Regions from separate parts of the Homo sapiens genome. Here all the other regions are linked to region 3. The links are contacts of gene promoters, found by promoter capture Hi-C in blood cells and fetal thymus (Javierre and others, 2016). All regions are on one chromosome and are shown on one strand. The core of a region is centred on a gene start or on the middle of the fragment in contact, and the rest is flanking DNA. Distances in the headings are between cores, read along the strand shown. Region 1 holds the start of SLC48A1 (solute carrier family 48 member 1). Region 2 holds the start of COX14 (cytochrome c oxidase assembly factor COX14). Region 3 holds the start of DDX23 (DEAD-box helicase 23). Region 4 holds the start of HDAC7 (histone deacetylase 7).

The links. Contacts are between HindIII fragments. The CHiCAGO score rates a contact against its expected background, and 5 or more counts as called.
Region 1: the fragment with the promoter of SLC48A1 here is called in contact with the fragment with the promoter of DDX23 in region 3 in 4 of 17 cell types (erythroblasts, neutrophils, total B cells and 1 more); the score reaches 8.9 in erythroblasts.
Region 2: the fragment with the promoter of COX14 here is called in contact with the fragment with the promoter of DDX23 in region 3 in 5 of 17 cell types (monocytes, neutrophils, non-activated CD4 T cells and 2 more); the score reaches 8.8 in monocytes.
Region 4: a contact is called between the fragment with the promoter of HDAC7 here and the fragment with the promoter of DDX23 in region 3, in 2 of 17 cell types (neutrophils and M0 macrophages). The highest score is 8.6, in neutrophils.

The regions. Positions count from the first base shown.
Region 1 is chr12:47,771,988-47,775,215 of GRCh38, forward strand. It overlaps SLC48A1 (solute carrier family 48 member 1), which reads left to right and starts at 1,251. Exons shown (of 3, transcript NM_017842.3): 1 at 1,251-1,453. The coding sequence starts at 1,318. RefSeq lists a silencer at 1,117-1,726 and enhancers at 1,472-1,978, 1,979-2,483. The HindIII fragment of the contact is 7,379 bases long and covers 1-3,228 here.
Region 2 is chr12:50,110,218-50,113,568 of GRCh38, forward strand. COX14 (cytochrome c oxidase assembly factor COX14) reads left to right here and starts at 2,019. Exons shown (of 2, transcript NM_032901.4): 1 at 2,019-2,084. GPD1 (glycerol-3-phosphate dehydrogenase 1) reads left to right here. Exons shown (of 8, transcript NM_005276.4): 8 at 1-1,096. RefSeq lists enhancers at 1,459-1,508, 1,569-1,828, 2,049-2,288, 2,299-2,348. The HindIII fragment of the contact is 7,994 bases long and covers 991-3,351 here.
Region 3 is chr12:48,850,237-48,853,727 of GRCh38, forward strand. DDX23 (DEAD-box helicase 23) reads right to left here and starts at 1,927. Exons shown (of 17, transcript NM_004818.3): 1 at 1,848-1,927. LOC105369755 (a long non-coding RNA gene) reads left to right here and starts at 1,485. Exons shown (of 2, transcript XR_944925.3): 1 at 1,485-1,578; 2 at 1,814-2,313. RefSeq lists enhancers at 1,783-1,972, 2,852-3,061. The HindIII fragment of the contact is 5,632 bases long and covers 1-3,491 here.
Region 4 is chr12:47,818,283-47,821,480 of GRCh38, forward strand. It overlaps HDAC7 (histone deacetylase 7), which reads right to left and starts at 1,621. Exons shown (of 26, transcript NM_015401.5): 1 at 1,485-1,621. The coding sequence starts at 1,503. RefSeq lists enhancers at 550-1,123, 2,462-3,198 and silencers at 1,032-1,341, 1,352-1,431, 1,572-1,911. The HindIII fragment of the contact is 23,145 bases long and covers 1-3,198 here.

The sequences.
Region 1 (3,228 bases), core at 1-2,500, 1.1 Mb before region 3:
GGCAACCCTGATGTCCCCTTGATTTTAGCCCAGTGAGACCATTATTTGGATTCCTGACCTACAGAACTGTAAAATAATAATAAGTTTGTGTTATTTTAAATCAGTAAATTTGTGGTAATTTGTTACGGCAGCACACACACAAAAAAAACTAATGCAAGGGGTATTGGTTATGTTTTGTGCAGGTATATGATGGGCCTCCCCATGTGGATCCTTAGTGCTGTGGCAGAGCCCTTGTTATTGTGCTGGGATTTTCCCTCCAGCTCCCGGCCGGAAGCTGGGCTCACGTGGGAGCTCAGTGCCCTCCTGCTACAGATCTGTCTCTTCCTTACAATGGTATGATCCCGAGGGTCAGGGTGAGGGGTTTGGGAGGATAAGGCTTGTGCTGATAAAAGGAAAGGTGAGGTCCGTTGCAGTGGCTCAAGCCTGTAATTCCAGCGCTTTGGGAGGCCGAGGTGGGAAGACAGCTTGAGGCCAGGAGTTGGGGACCAGCCTGGGCAATATAGCGAGACCCTATCTCTACAAAAAATAAATAACAAAAAATACTAGCCAGGCGTGGTGGCACACACCTGTAGTCCTGGCTGCTTGGAAGGCTGAGGTGAGAGCATTGCTTGAATCCAGGTGTTGGAGGATGCGGAGCTATGATGGCGCCACTGTACTCCTGCCCGGGCAACAGAGTGAGACTCTGTTTAAAAAAAAAAAAGTAGGGATTTGTGGGGAGCTGTGCGTGAGGATAGAATGTATAGAATGTTTGCAGTCAGAAGGTGATGGTCGCAGGGGTTCCCAGACTTTAGTGTGTGGAGAAATCCTCTGCGATATGGTGGGAGGGAACCTGGTTGATAGAAGGACGGGCGGAAGGAATTCTATTCACAGCGTACTCTAATATTTCTTAAGTTTTACCTATTAATTTTTAACAAGAAATTTTAATTTTAATTTTAAACGAAAATACGCATCGTACTCAGAGGTAAAGATTTTTAATCCTCGCGGTTCGCTCGTATAAAGGCATATTTCCGGTCCCTTCCAAGGTCCAACAATCCGGACACGGCGGGTCTGGGGATGGGCCCAGGAATCCGCCTTTTTAGCAGCATTCCCCCAAACGACACGGCAGCTTCGCAAAGCGGCGGTGGCGTCTGCGGTTCCGGGCGCGGGCGGCCTCCGGCCGGGGAGGGCGCTGTGCGGGCGGCGCTGGGGGCGGGCCGGGGGCGGAGCGCGGGGCGCCGGCTGCTCTGGCGGCTCCCGCGGCTCCGGCTGGCGGCTTCGGGCCCTGCACCTGTGACTCTCGGCCGCGCTCGCCCTCGGCCCGCCCGGCGCCGCAGCCCCATGGCCCCGTCCAGGCTGCAGCTCGGCCTCCGCGCCGCCTACTCCGGCATCAGCTCCGTGGCCGGCTTCTCCATCTTCCTCGTCTGGACGGTGGTCTACCGACAGCCGGGGACCGCGGCCATGGGAGGGCTCGCAGGTACCCCGGGACGCTGGGCGGCGCGGGGCGGGTGCGCGGCTGCGGGGCGGGCGCCGTCAGCTGCTCCAGGACGCTCCCCGCGAGCGGCGCTTCCCCGCGGAGCGGGTGGAGTGTTTACTCGAAAACAGCGGTTGGCGGCGGCAGGCCCCACGCGGGCCCGGGCTCCTGGGCATTCCTGGGTGCCTCTGAGACCCGATGCCCGCCCGGGCGCCACCTGGGGGTGCCGACGGCCCGCCACTGCCGGCTGCACAGACCTGCCGCGCCGCCCGGGTTATCTGTCACGGCACACTGCCTGTCGCCCTCCGCCCAGTTGCCCCACGACAGTGTCCCCTCCGCGCGCCCGCGGCGCTGGTCGCCTCCTATCCCCAAACACACACACACACACACACGCACACACACACGGTTGTTCTGAGGGATCCCCTGCCCCCCAGGCGCCCCTTCCCTGGGTGCTGGGTGAGGGCAGAGAGGGAAGAAGTGGGAAAGGAAGAGGGCTAGGGGTGGCTGGGGAAGCCCATCTCCCTCCTTCCAGAGGGCTCCCCCGCAGAGCCCTCTGCTGAGACCCACAGGGAGGACGGCGTTAGGGATCTCATAGAAACTGGACATTCTCTTTCCACCCATGTTGGTGCCTTTTTGCTACCCGTCTGCTGTGGCTCCTCAGCCAAGCTCTGCCAAATCCTGCAGGCCAGCCGCCCTTTCTGTGCTTCTGGGAGGGAAGGGGAAGCATCGGTGCGCTGATGGGGGCTCTGGGCTGACCAGTGCTCCTTGTTGTGCACATTTGGGCTCGCAGTTTAACCTCTCTGCGCCATAGAATTGGTATGAAGATGAAAAATATTATCTCTACTTTCTAACATTTTAAAAAATGCTTTCTATGTGTCAGGCACTATGTTAAGCAACCTGCTTCCCTTATTTCATTTAATCCTTACATTAGTCTCATGAAGTAGGCCTTACGATTATGTCCATTTTACAGATAAGGAAACTGAGGCCTGAAGTTAAATAAATTGCTTACCCGGGATTACACAGCTACATGAAATAATATGTGTGGGAAAGGACTTTGGGAAGAAAATACGTATAATACTTTTACATATGATGATTATATTCCATTACTAAAATCCTCGGCCAAAAGAACCCTAAATGGAATAACTAAAAATAACTAATTTACTCACTGCCACAGGGAGTGCTGAGTGCCATCCCTGGGTAGAGTCGCAGCATGAGGTGGGGTTAATGCCTTAGAAGAGGGGCATACAGGGCCCCACCCTACACAATGCCAACAAAGCACTGGGTCACCAAGAAGGGGGGATGGGCACCCTGGCTAGGGTGTTCTCTGCCTGCCCAGCTGCCTCACCACCTGTGGGATCCTGAGGACAACTGGCCCATCTCTGCGCGTTATCTACAGAGCCCTAGTTCCTTTCCCCACTGCACCCCGCCACCCTCCATGTTTGTCAAGGTTCACTTCTCCCTGCCACTTTTTTGTTTCCTATTGGCCCTGTTGCTTTCCCCTCTGGAAGGCGGCGTCAGAGCCCTATGATTGCATTGCGAAGACCGAAGGCAAGAGAAGGATGAGCAGGGAGGGCCAGCCTGGGATCTCAGCTGGTTGTGTTGAGTCTGGCCTGGTACAAGTGGAGGTGAACCCTACCTGGCCGTTTGACCCTATCCTGGGCCACAGTTTCCTCATCTATTAGGAGTGGGAGGAGATGTCCCCAAAAGACATCTGACTTCCCTCCAGATCTGAAATCTTGCAGTGCTGCCCACTCCCTGAGTCTCCAGCTGCCTCCTAG
Region 2 (3,351 bases), core at 769-3,268, 1.3 Mb after region 3:
ATTCTCCCCAGGGACTTCCCGGTTCCTAGTTCTTTGCCAGCTCCTCCCCACTCTGTGCGACCTTTCCAAGCCTTCCCTCACCCTCCCCGCCAGCACCCTCTTTGGGGAGCAGGAACTTAATCTGCTGACAGAGCTACACCTTTCATAACAGGCTCAGATCACTCAGCTCCCTGTGACCTTTGTATTCACCCAGGCTTCCTTCTCAGTAGCTCTAGCTGGGGGAGGTGTCAGCTGGGCCCCTCCTGTGCTATCTCCCCAGAGGACATCCCTGACTCCACCCCTTTCTTCCTCCCAAACTCTGCACCTCTTCCTCAGCTGCTCCAGACCGGCCAGGGTAACCAGCTAACCATGCCTGGCATCTGGAAGCCAGCAGGCCAGAGGGTGGCCCAAAGGCTGATGAACGGTAGGGAAGGGTGAGCAGATTCCTATGTTGGTGGGCACCAATATTCCAAGGGCAGCTCTCTTTGCTGAATGAGGGCCTTCTCGTGAGGTACTGACAACACCAGCAACTCGAGAGCTGGGAAACTCAAGGAGGAGGAAGAAAATCAAAACCACCCTACTCCCTGGGGTGAGGAAAGAACAGGAGGGGAGGAGGAGGAGTGTGCTCTGCACTTGCCTTGCTCCAGGATGGGGTGGCAGCAGAGGAATGTCACAGGTCAGCAGCCTAGGCCTCCAGCTATAAATAGTCCGGAGGGCCCGAGAGGCTCCCGCCCGTCCAGCAGGGCTGTCAGCTTCCTGTGTGGCAGCACCTGGCACACTGGCTCTGGCCAGCATTATGCTAAAACCCTGTTACTCTCCAATGAACCAGGGAGGCGGGCTCCTCTCTGCGCCTATCCCTTGAGAATTCTGTCTTACCAGTGAAGGGTGGGGCTGCCCAGATCAGGCAGCAGGAGTGAGGGGCACAGTCACCCCAGGCCTTGCTGAGCCCAGGTCTGGGTACTGAGTGTCCAGAGCTGCCTCCCCAGGAGGTTAAGGTGGGGGCAAAGGGGAAGCTTCAAGCACTTTGCCTACTTTTGTTCACTCCCCAGTGCACTGTGACTCAGGCCTTCCCATCAGGCCTATTTGTCTACCCAATAAAGCGTGTTTTTTCCAGAAACAAGAAGAGTTGGGAGAGGGAGCTTCAGTGCATGTGGCAGTGCGTGTGCTGGCGCGTATCATTGCACGTATGTTTTCCCTCTTACCGTAGGAAAAATGAAAAAAGAAATCCCTCCTCCATAATCGCAGCTACTCCAGGGGTCAGCGGCGGTGCCCACTCAGTCCCCATCCCTCTCTCTCCCCTCCCGCCAGCGCCCCCTCCCGCCCTCGCCGCAAGCTGGCCCCGGCCTTGCCGGCCCTTCTTAGGGGCTTTATCATGCCTCCTGCAAGAATAGAGATCACACACGGGACGGAAACGTTAGACTCTCATCCCTTGTGCCCATTCCTTGGTCACGGGCCAAGCTGCCGCATCCTTAGCGGTCCAGGCATCGCGGTGCCCCTCGGGCCCCTACCTGGACTAGGCCCACAGCCGGGCTCTAGGGGGCGCGCGATCCACCTCCAGAAGGCCGGCTGCGAAAATCTACCCAGCTACTGGCGACGTCACCGCACCGTAGGCTGAGGATTGGCTGACTCTGATTTAGCATCCTAAAACTTCCGGTTCCAGAGCTTGGCTCGCCAAAGACCCTCCCTCGAGGGAGAGAAACCACAGCCCCCAGAATTCAGCGGGCCTCTCCGAGAGCACGGCGCGTCTGAGGATGCGTAGTAAGGATAACGGGCCCGGAAGCCGGAAGTTCAAAGCCGGCCTCCAGCCAGAGTGACGGCCTGCGCGGACTCCCGCCTTAGTGGGCGGAGTTGTGCCGCGTCTGATGCGCAGTTCCCTTTATAGCGCGGCAAGCCGAATCCTAGAGGCTAACCCGGCAGGTGGGAGGGAGAAAGTTGCTTTCTGCACCAATAGCTGAGGCGTTCAGGGTTGTCCAGGGACGCTACCCTCACGTGTCTGGTTCCGAGTGCTGCGTTCGGCTGTGCTGGGAAGTTGCGTAGACAGTGGCCTCGAGACCCTGCCTGCCTGAGGAGGCCTCGGTTGGATGCGAAGGAGCTGCAGCATCCAGGTACGCTGCCGGCTAGGGCCGAGCAGGGGCTGCCAGTCCCACTGCCTGCGCGCCCACCTGGGCCAGTCTCCGCTTGCCGCGTCCTCCCATCCCCTAGTCTGCAGGCCTGGTGCCCTTGAATTCACCCGCTTCTGTTGCGTTGCGGACCGCGAGCTGCACTGCTTCCTGCCCAAGCCCAAGCTCCTCGCAGCAGTAGGTCAGTCTTGCTAGAGCTCAGCGCTAATCCTGTCAAACCTCGACTCCTGCCTGGCGTCTCGACCCTCCACGCTCCAACTCTGCCTCTTCCTTGCTCTATAGACCTCTGCGTCCTGATAAGTGGCTCTCCGGGGCACCCTTCGTGCATATCGGCTATCCAGCTCCACCTCTTGACCGCTTTCACTTCCTGGAATGCTCTCACTGCTCCTCTTCTCCAGGCCATCCTTCTAAAAAGACAGTTCCACTCCCACCCCGATTCCCACCCCTACACCTTTCTGCTAAGTTTTCTCAAGCCCCCACCCTGTCTTTGAGCTGTTGTCTCTGAACTCTCACAGTGCCTCTCCATGAGACCATAAGCTCCTGTATGACAGAAGCCATGTTCTTTTTAGCGGCCTCCGTAGCATGATGTACGTTATGTTATGTTATGTTATGTTATGTTATGTTATGTTATTTTGAGACAGGGTCTTGCTTTGTCGCTCAGGCTGCAGGTGTGCGCCACCACGCCCGGGTAATTTTTAAAAAAAGGTTTTTTTTTTGTTGTTGTTGTTGTTGTTTTTAAATAGAGAAAAGGTCTCCCTATGTTGCCCAACCTGGTCTCCAACTCCTGAGCTCAAGCCATCCTCCCGCCTCGGCCTCCCAAAGTGTTGGGATTACCGGCGTGAGCCACCGTACCCGGCCGATGTACTACTCTCTAAGTGCCAAACAAAAAGTAGATAAAAGATGATGGATACCTTAAAAGCCCTGAGTTGACCACTATGCAGTGTATGCATGTAACAAAATCGCACTTCTACCCATACGTTTACGCAATTTTTTTTTTTTTTTTTTGAGACGGAGTCTTGCTCTGTCGCCCAGGCTGGGGTCCCGTGGCGGGATCTCGGCTCACTACAAGCTCCGCCTTCCGGGTTCATGCCATTCTCCTGCCTCAGCCTCCAGAGTAGCTGGGACTACAGGTGCCCGCCACCACGCCCGGCTAATTTTTTGTGTTTTTAGTAGAGATGGGGTTTCACTGTGTTAGCCAGGATGGTCTCGATATCCTGACCTCGTGATCCACCCGCCTCGGCCTCCCAAAGTG
Region 3 (3,491 bases), core at 677-3,176:
TGGAGGCAAAGCTAACAGGACTTACTAAGGAAGAAGCAGAAAGAGCAGACACAAAGATAGCTCCTAAATTTATAGTTTCAGCAACCTAATAGTTTGTGGTGCCATAGCAAACAAACTGGAGAAGACTAGGGAACGAACAGATTTAAGAGGAAATCAAACGTTTCATTTTGGCCAGGTTGAGTGTGAGAATATCTGTGGAGATTCCCAGAAGGCAAAGAGAAATGCAAATCTGAACTTAGGGGAGAGGGTCTGTAGACAAAAACTTGAGTCACCAATACACAGATAGCTTTTAAAGCCATGGGACACTAAATGATATTACCTAAGTAGGCAGCATAGTGAAAGAAAAAAAATAGAGAAGAAGCTCCAGAATTGAGCTCTGGAACACTTTAACAGGAGTTAGCCACGGGATGAACCAGAGAAAAAGACTGAAAAGAACTAGCAGCCAGTGAGAAAAGACAAAGAAAAGCATGGCAACGAAGAAGCCAAAAACATGTTTCAAGGAGGGAGGGGTCAACTGTGTCAAGTACCACCGAAGTGGAGAGGGAATAAGGGACAGGGAAGTAACCACTGAATTTGGAAAAATGGAGATTATTGGTGACCTTGACAAGAGCTGTTTCAGTTGCATTGCGGGAATGGAAGCCTGAGTGGAATGAGTTTGGAAGAGAATGAAAAATGAGAAGAAGACAGTAAATACAGGCAACTTTTATTACAGGTTCTATTATCACAAGGGCCAAATAACCAGGCTGACTCTGGCCATGCTTCCCAGCAGCCTTCCTCTCAAACCTCCAGATCTTCAGGTCCTCAGTTCTTGCAGGGCAGGGGCACATTCTTTTTTTTCACTCAATGACGTATTTAACAAGCATCTACTGTACGCAAGGCACAGTGCTAGGTGCTATGTGAGTTACAAAAATAAATTCTGTTCACAGGAAGTGTTTAGAACAACAGGGTTATGAGGTCGGACGCGGTGGCTCACGCATGTAATCCTAACACTTTAAGAGGCCGAGACAGGTGGATTGCCTGAGCTCAGGAGTTCGAGACCAGCCTGGGGAACACGGTGAAACCCCGTCTCTACTAAAAATACAAAAAATTAGCCGGGCGTGGCGGCGTGCGCCTGTAATCACAGCTACTCGGGAGGCTGAGACAGGAGAATCGCTTGAACCCGGGAGGCGGAGGTTGCAGAGAACCAAGATCGTGCCATTGCACTCCAGCCTAGGCGACAGAGCGAGACTCCGTCTCAAAAAAAAAAAGAAAAGAAAAGAAAAAAAAGAACAATAGGGGGTATGAGACACATACCAAGAAGAGTATCAAGGCTCAGATGTAGTAATACAGGTGTTCAAAGGCGTTTCCTTTCACTTGTAAAAGGTGATGTGGAAGGCTTGGAAGAGGAAGTGACGCTTGAGCTTTTAAGTATAAGTAGAATTTTAAGATATGTAATTAAGGACGCGGAAAAGAAGTCATTCCCGGCAAAAGAAATAATACGGCCGGCGCAGAGGCGGGAAAACATGGACTGACTGCGAGAGAAAAGCCAGAGTTCCAGTTTGGCTGCACCAAAGGCTACTTTAAGCATGAAAGAATAAGGTCAGACTGGGGGTATCAGAGGCGCTGTGCCCATAGGCAGAGTCCTGGGAGGAAAATATCGTGCAGGGACGTGGCCTGTGCCCGGAGGAGCCAACACTACCCCTGGGGCCCGCGCCCCTTCACTCCAGCCCGCCCGAGCTTCCCGGGTTCATGCCCCTTCTCTGAGGCGTTCTTTCCCGCCTCATCCAGGAGGCAGGGGCCACCGCCGTGCCCTGACTCTAGCCCTTTCTGTAAGCTCGTGGGAACCGCCTCCACCGCCCGGGACTCACCACCCTGAGTCTGAACCGCCCAACGCGGCCTCAACGTCGCGGAGCCGTCGCCATCTTTCCCGTTTCCTGGTCGCGGAGATGAACACCCCCCACCCCCCCGGCCGCGAGGCAAGCTGGGAAGGCGAGTTCCTGGAGCTGGGCGGCACAGGCCGACACTGAGGCCTGGAAACTACCAATCCCAGAATGCATGACTTGAGCGCCGGCCCCAGGCTGCGGGGTCTGCCGGGCAATGTGGTTTGCCAGACGTTAGCGTCCGGGAAGGAAGAGTTTTTCGCCAATAGGCTTTCGGCATTAGGTTCTCCCGCCGAGCACCCTTCTTGGAATCGGCTGGTCTTCCTAGAAACTACGGTCTATGACTGTCCTTGCCCGTGGCTTACAGTGGAGGAATTTAAGGGCTTCCTGAGATATCTGTAGTACGTAATTATAGCTAACAACCGCAGTAACAATAAATACCATTCGTGGAAAAGCGGTTTTTATAATAATTCTGTGAGAATGGGGCTAGCCCCATTTTACAGTTGGACAAACTAAAGATCAGGTTACCGGAGTAGGTTCACAAGGAGGGTGATGCAGTTCTCCATTGTGTGTGGAACTATCCCAGGCTTAGGAGGACGTTTTAGCAACCTTGGCCCCTGCAGCCGGGTGAATGCCATAACAACCCCCAGTTATTGTTACAGCTCCAAATGAGCCCACACAATGGGCTCTAAAGTCCTCCCGGAAGGATGGTATCTCCTGGGCTCTAGCACCTGTTTTCTCAACATTCCAGATGGAACCCTGGTTTCCTCAATTTCTTGCCCTTTGGAATGTGACCAATTGTTGAGCTATCTTGGTATTTTTGCTTCTTTCTTCCCCCAGATTCCCCTACTTCAGTCTTCCACTGAGTTTTGTTGTTGCTGTTGTTGTTGTTGTTGATGTTGTTGTTGTTGTTTTAACCTCAAATCGTAAGTTCACTTTGTGTTTCTCTTTGGTCTTATGGGTTCATAACTCTTTCCCTCAAAACAAAACAAAACATTGCAGTTGCGGAAACGGTTTAGATAACCAGAAGTATCTCGGACCTCCCTTCCCATTTTGCCAGCAGCAGGTTTGTTGCTTCAATTCCACATGGCTGTAGGTCTGCCTTTTCTCTCTGAATATGCCCAAGCTCTCAAGCAGAGCCTCAGGATAGACCCAAGTAATCCTAAAGCCCTGAGCATCACGTACAATGGCCCAAAGTAACCCTCGGAGACACACACTTCTCTTAGAACCTGCAGCCTTTCACCTCCCAGCTTCTACTCCAGAGAGAACGCAAGGGAAAGAAGAGAGCTCTGAGATCTGTTAGGTGTAATTCACCACAAAAGCACGAGAGGGCGCTCGACTCACAGATTCACAGATTAAACTAAGAATCAGACCAACCATGGTAGGCCAGAATCTTCAAAAACTGCAGCCACTTTTTATTGAGAATCTTCTAAGTGCTCAGCTCTGGGCTGGACACTTAACCTACCTTATTTGTTTTACTTAGTTCTCATAGCAGTATGAGATGAGTGCTATCTCCATTTTACTGGTAAGGAGATTGTGGCCCAGAAAGAGTAATTATGCCTTCAAAGGCCACATAGTTAAAAGAATGGGCCAGGTGAGGTGGCTCATGCTTGTATCTCAGCACTTTGGGAG
Region 4 (3,198 bases), core at 371-2,870, 1.0 Mb before region 3:
CCCTGCTGGGCAAGGAGGGACATCAGGGGACTAAAGGCAGAGGACCAGTCCCAATAGGTCCAAGACCTGGTTCCAGTCTAGGTTCACTGGGCTGGGTACCACTCACTGGGACTACTCTGTGCCTTAGTTTCCCTCAGAAATGACTGCAGAGAAGAAGAAAATGACTTAATAACCCATGGGTAGCGGCAGCCTAGCAGCCTATGGAGTCCTGGGAGGGGGAAAGGGCCGCCAAAGCGTCTCATTGGAGGGCAGGGACCTGAGTCACAGTCTCCTGCCAGCCCTATAGCTGAATAGGGGTCCTGAGGAAGGTCCCACAGGTCCAGATGCAAGTCCAGGGAACAGGCTGAGAAGTTGATCTTGAGCTCCCAGCAGGGCCGCTGAGGGCCGATGCCCCATTCTCACCCTAGAAAGCGGCAGGCAGAGCTGGGCCTCAGGCAGATGTTGCCTAGGGGAGTGGGCAGGGAGCGTTGGCAGCGAGACAGCCAGTGTCCAGATGCAGGGGGAGGCCTTTGGGTGCGCAAGACAGCCAGCGGGGAGAAGGAGTGAGGAGCAGCCGTGGCTGGGGAGGTCAGACCCAAACGGGCAGCCACAGCGGGAAGCAATGGGGGTGGGGCACTGGGTGGCCTGCGGGCCCCAGAGGGCTCTCTCCTGGCCCACAGGCCTAGAAACTCTGGTCGTGGGAACCCAGCCCATCCGCCAAATTTGCCGCCTGCTCTCACACTCCCCAACACCAACAGACCCCAGGCCTGGGGGGTGCACATCCTGTCCCCCACCCCTCACACAGCCTGCGGCGCCCCGCTTCCCGCGCCGCTGCCGGCATTGACCTCCACAGCTCACCAGGGCACAGGTGTCTCTTCACCCTGATGGGTGAGCAAGGATGGGGGGCAATGCTCAGAGAAACCTCCCAGCCAGAGACCCCTCCAAGGGACCTCTTTCCCCGCCGAAGGATCTGAGTAGGGCCCTGCCCGGCTCCACGGGATGGGGGCGCTGATGTCCAGCCCCACAAAGCCCAGCCCCAACTCAGTGGGTCCTGCCCTTTGCCCTCGCGCTTCCAAACCTTCCGCCCCGGAGCACCGCCCCCTCGCCGGGCCACCGCGGCCGTCCCTCCCTCCCCGGTCCCTCGGCTCGTCCTCCCCGGGAACAGGGGTGATGGGACGTGGGGCCCGCACACCGGCGGCCGGGGCCTCCAACTCCCTCCCTTGGGCCTGTAGCTGCCCCGGGGCGGGCGGATGTGGGCGCCCCGCGGGAGGCCCGAGCCCTCCGGCCCCCGGAACCAGCTCCGACCCGGAGCCTGCCAGAGCCCCGCGGAGCCGGGCGGGACAGGCGCGGTCGGGGGGCGCAAGCCGGGCTGGGCCCGCGGGGCTGGCGGGAGCCCGAGCCGGAGCCGGAGCCGGAGCCGGGGCCAGGGCCGGAGGCCGAGCCTGGGCGGGCGACGCTGGGTGCCGCGCGCAGGGCGGGGCGGGGGGCGGCCGCCCAGTACTCACCAGCGCCGGGGCTGTGCATCCAGGGGCCGGGGCCCTCAGAGCGGGGGGCTCATGGCGGGGCGGGGGGCTGGGGCGCCGGCCTCACATCCCCCCAGTCGCCGGAGGCTGCAGAGCGACTGTGAGACGGCGAGAGGAAGGGAGGGGGCCGGGAGGGGGAGGGCCCTGGCAGCCCGGCCGGCCGGGTAGGATGACAATGGAAGGAAATGCTTTATCTGAGTCTGAGAGCGGGCCAAGGGGGAGGGGAGGGAGGGGGCAGGCGCTCGCGGCCCTGGGACACACCACCCCGGCAGACACTGCACCGCGCGGCGCACAGGCGGGCCGCAGACACCGCGCGCGGCCAGATCGCGGCGGGGCGCGGCGCACTGCCGGGGAGGCAGCGCCGAACCCGGAACGCCGGCCGCGGCTCCGAGCCCCAGCCGCCGCGAGGCGCTCCGAGCCGTGCACAATTCCCGGAAACCCAGCTACCTGGGCGCACGCACCCTCGCATACACAACGTACACGAGCACGCATCCATGTTTACAAGGGGCAGAATCATTTACACAGCACACACTGGGGCTTCGGGGTGGACCCCCGTGCACACACTACATACCCGTACAGCCCACAAGCACGCAGCCACACGCGGGCACAGTGGGACACGCGTGGTGTCCCATGTCCCATACAAGGAATCCCAGACGGACACCCCCCACCACACACACACACACATAAGCACGACTTGCCTCAGGAAAGTTCCAGGATCTGATTTGAATCACTGCCCAGCCCTCCCCCACTGGCACCCCCACACACACACCATGCCTGCTGAGGGGAACGGAAGGGTCCAGCCTGTTCCTATTAAAAGAAAAAGGGTGTGGGGGTGGTGCAGATTTTGAAAGTTTTCTTTTTTTAAAGAAATTTCTCAAGGGACTTCCTTCCCTCCTCTCCTCTTCCTCTCTTCCTCCCATTCCTCTCCCTCCACAACCCCCCTCTTTCCCCCTCCCGGTCCCTATGAGTCAAACTTCAGCAATGTGCCCAGTGTCCCCCAGTGCATTACAGCGGATCACAGAAATGTTCCAGTCTGTGAGTCGGAATGCAGCCGCCTCCAGCCCTCCCTCAGCTAATAAACTCAGCTCAGGGCCGGCTTTAGGCAGTGGCCCTCCCTGCCTCTCCCTCCGCTTTTAGCTGGAGAGAAGGTCAGATTCAGGGGTCAGGGGCTAAGGACCTCGCCATTGTGCTTCCTGGGCTAGCCGGTCAGCCGTGTCTGCCTCCAGCAATCTGGAGCTGCTCCTAGGAAGGGGAGAGGTCCACCACGCAGGAACACTGGGCTCTCTGCAGCGTGAGGCGCCACCATTGTAAACCAAGGAGCAGCTTCCCCTGACCCCATTCTATCTCCCGCAATCCTAAGAAACCCCAAGAATCCAGAGAAGGAAAAATTGAGGCAGCCCCAGAGGTGGAGTCATGTCTGATTGGAAGCAAGAGCCCACAGTGGCCTAGGAGGGCTTGGCCATGCTGGCGGTGAACTTCAAACCATAGATTCTATTCCCTTCCCTCAGGCACAGCTCGGGACTCACTATCTGTTGCTACCGGCATATTCAGCGTGGGACTTCTTACTTCAGCCCCTTTCCTTGTCCCAGTTCTCCTTCGGCAGGCAGATCCAACCCCTCTGCGCTTGTTAACTTACCCTCCCAAAAGCCTTTCCTGGCATTCAAGTCCTCCTACAACCTGGCACCACACTCCATAC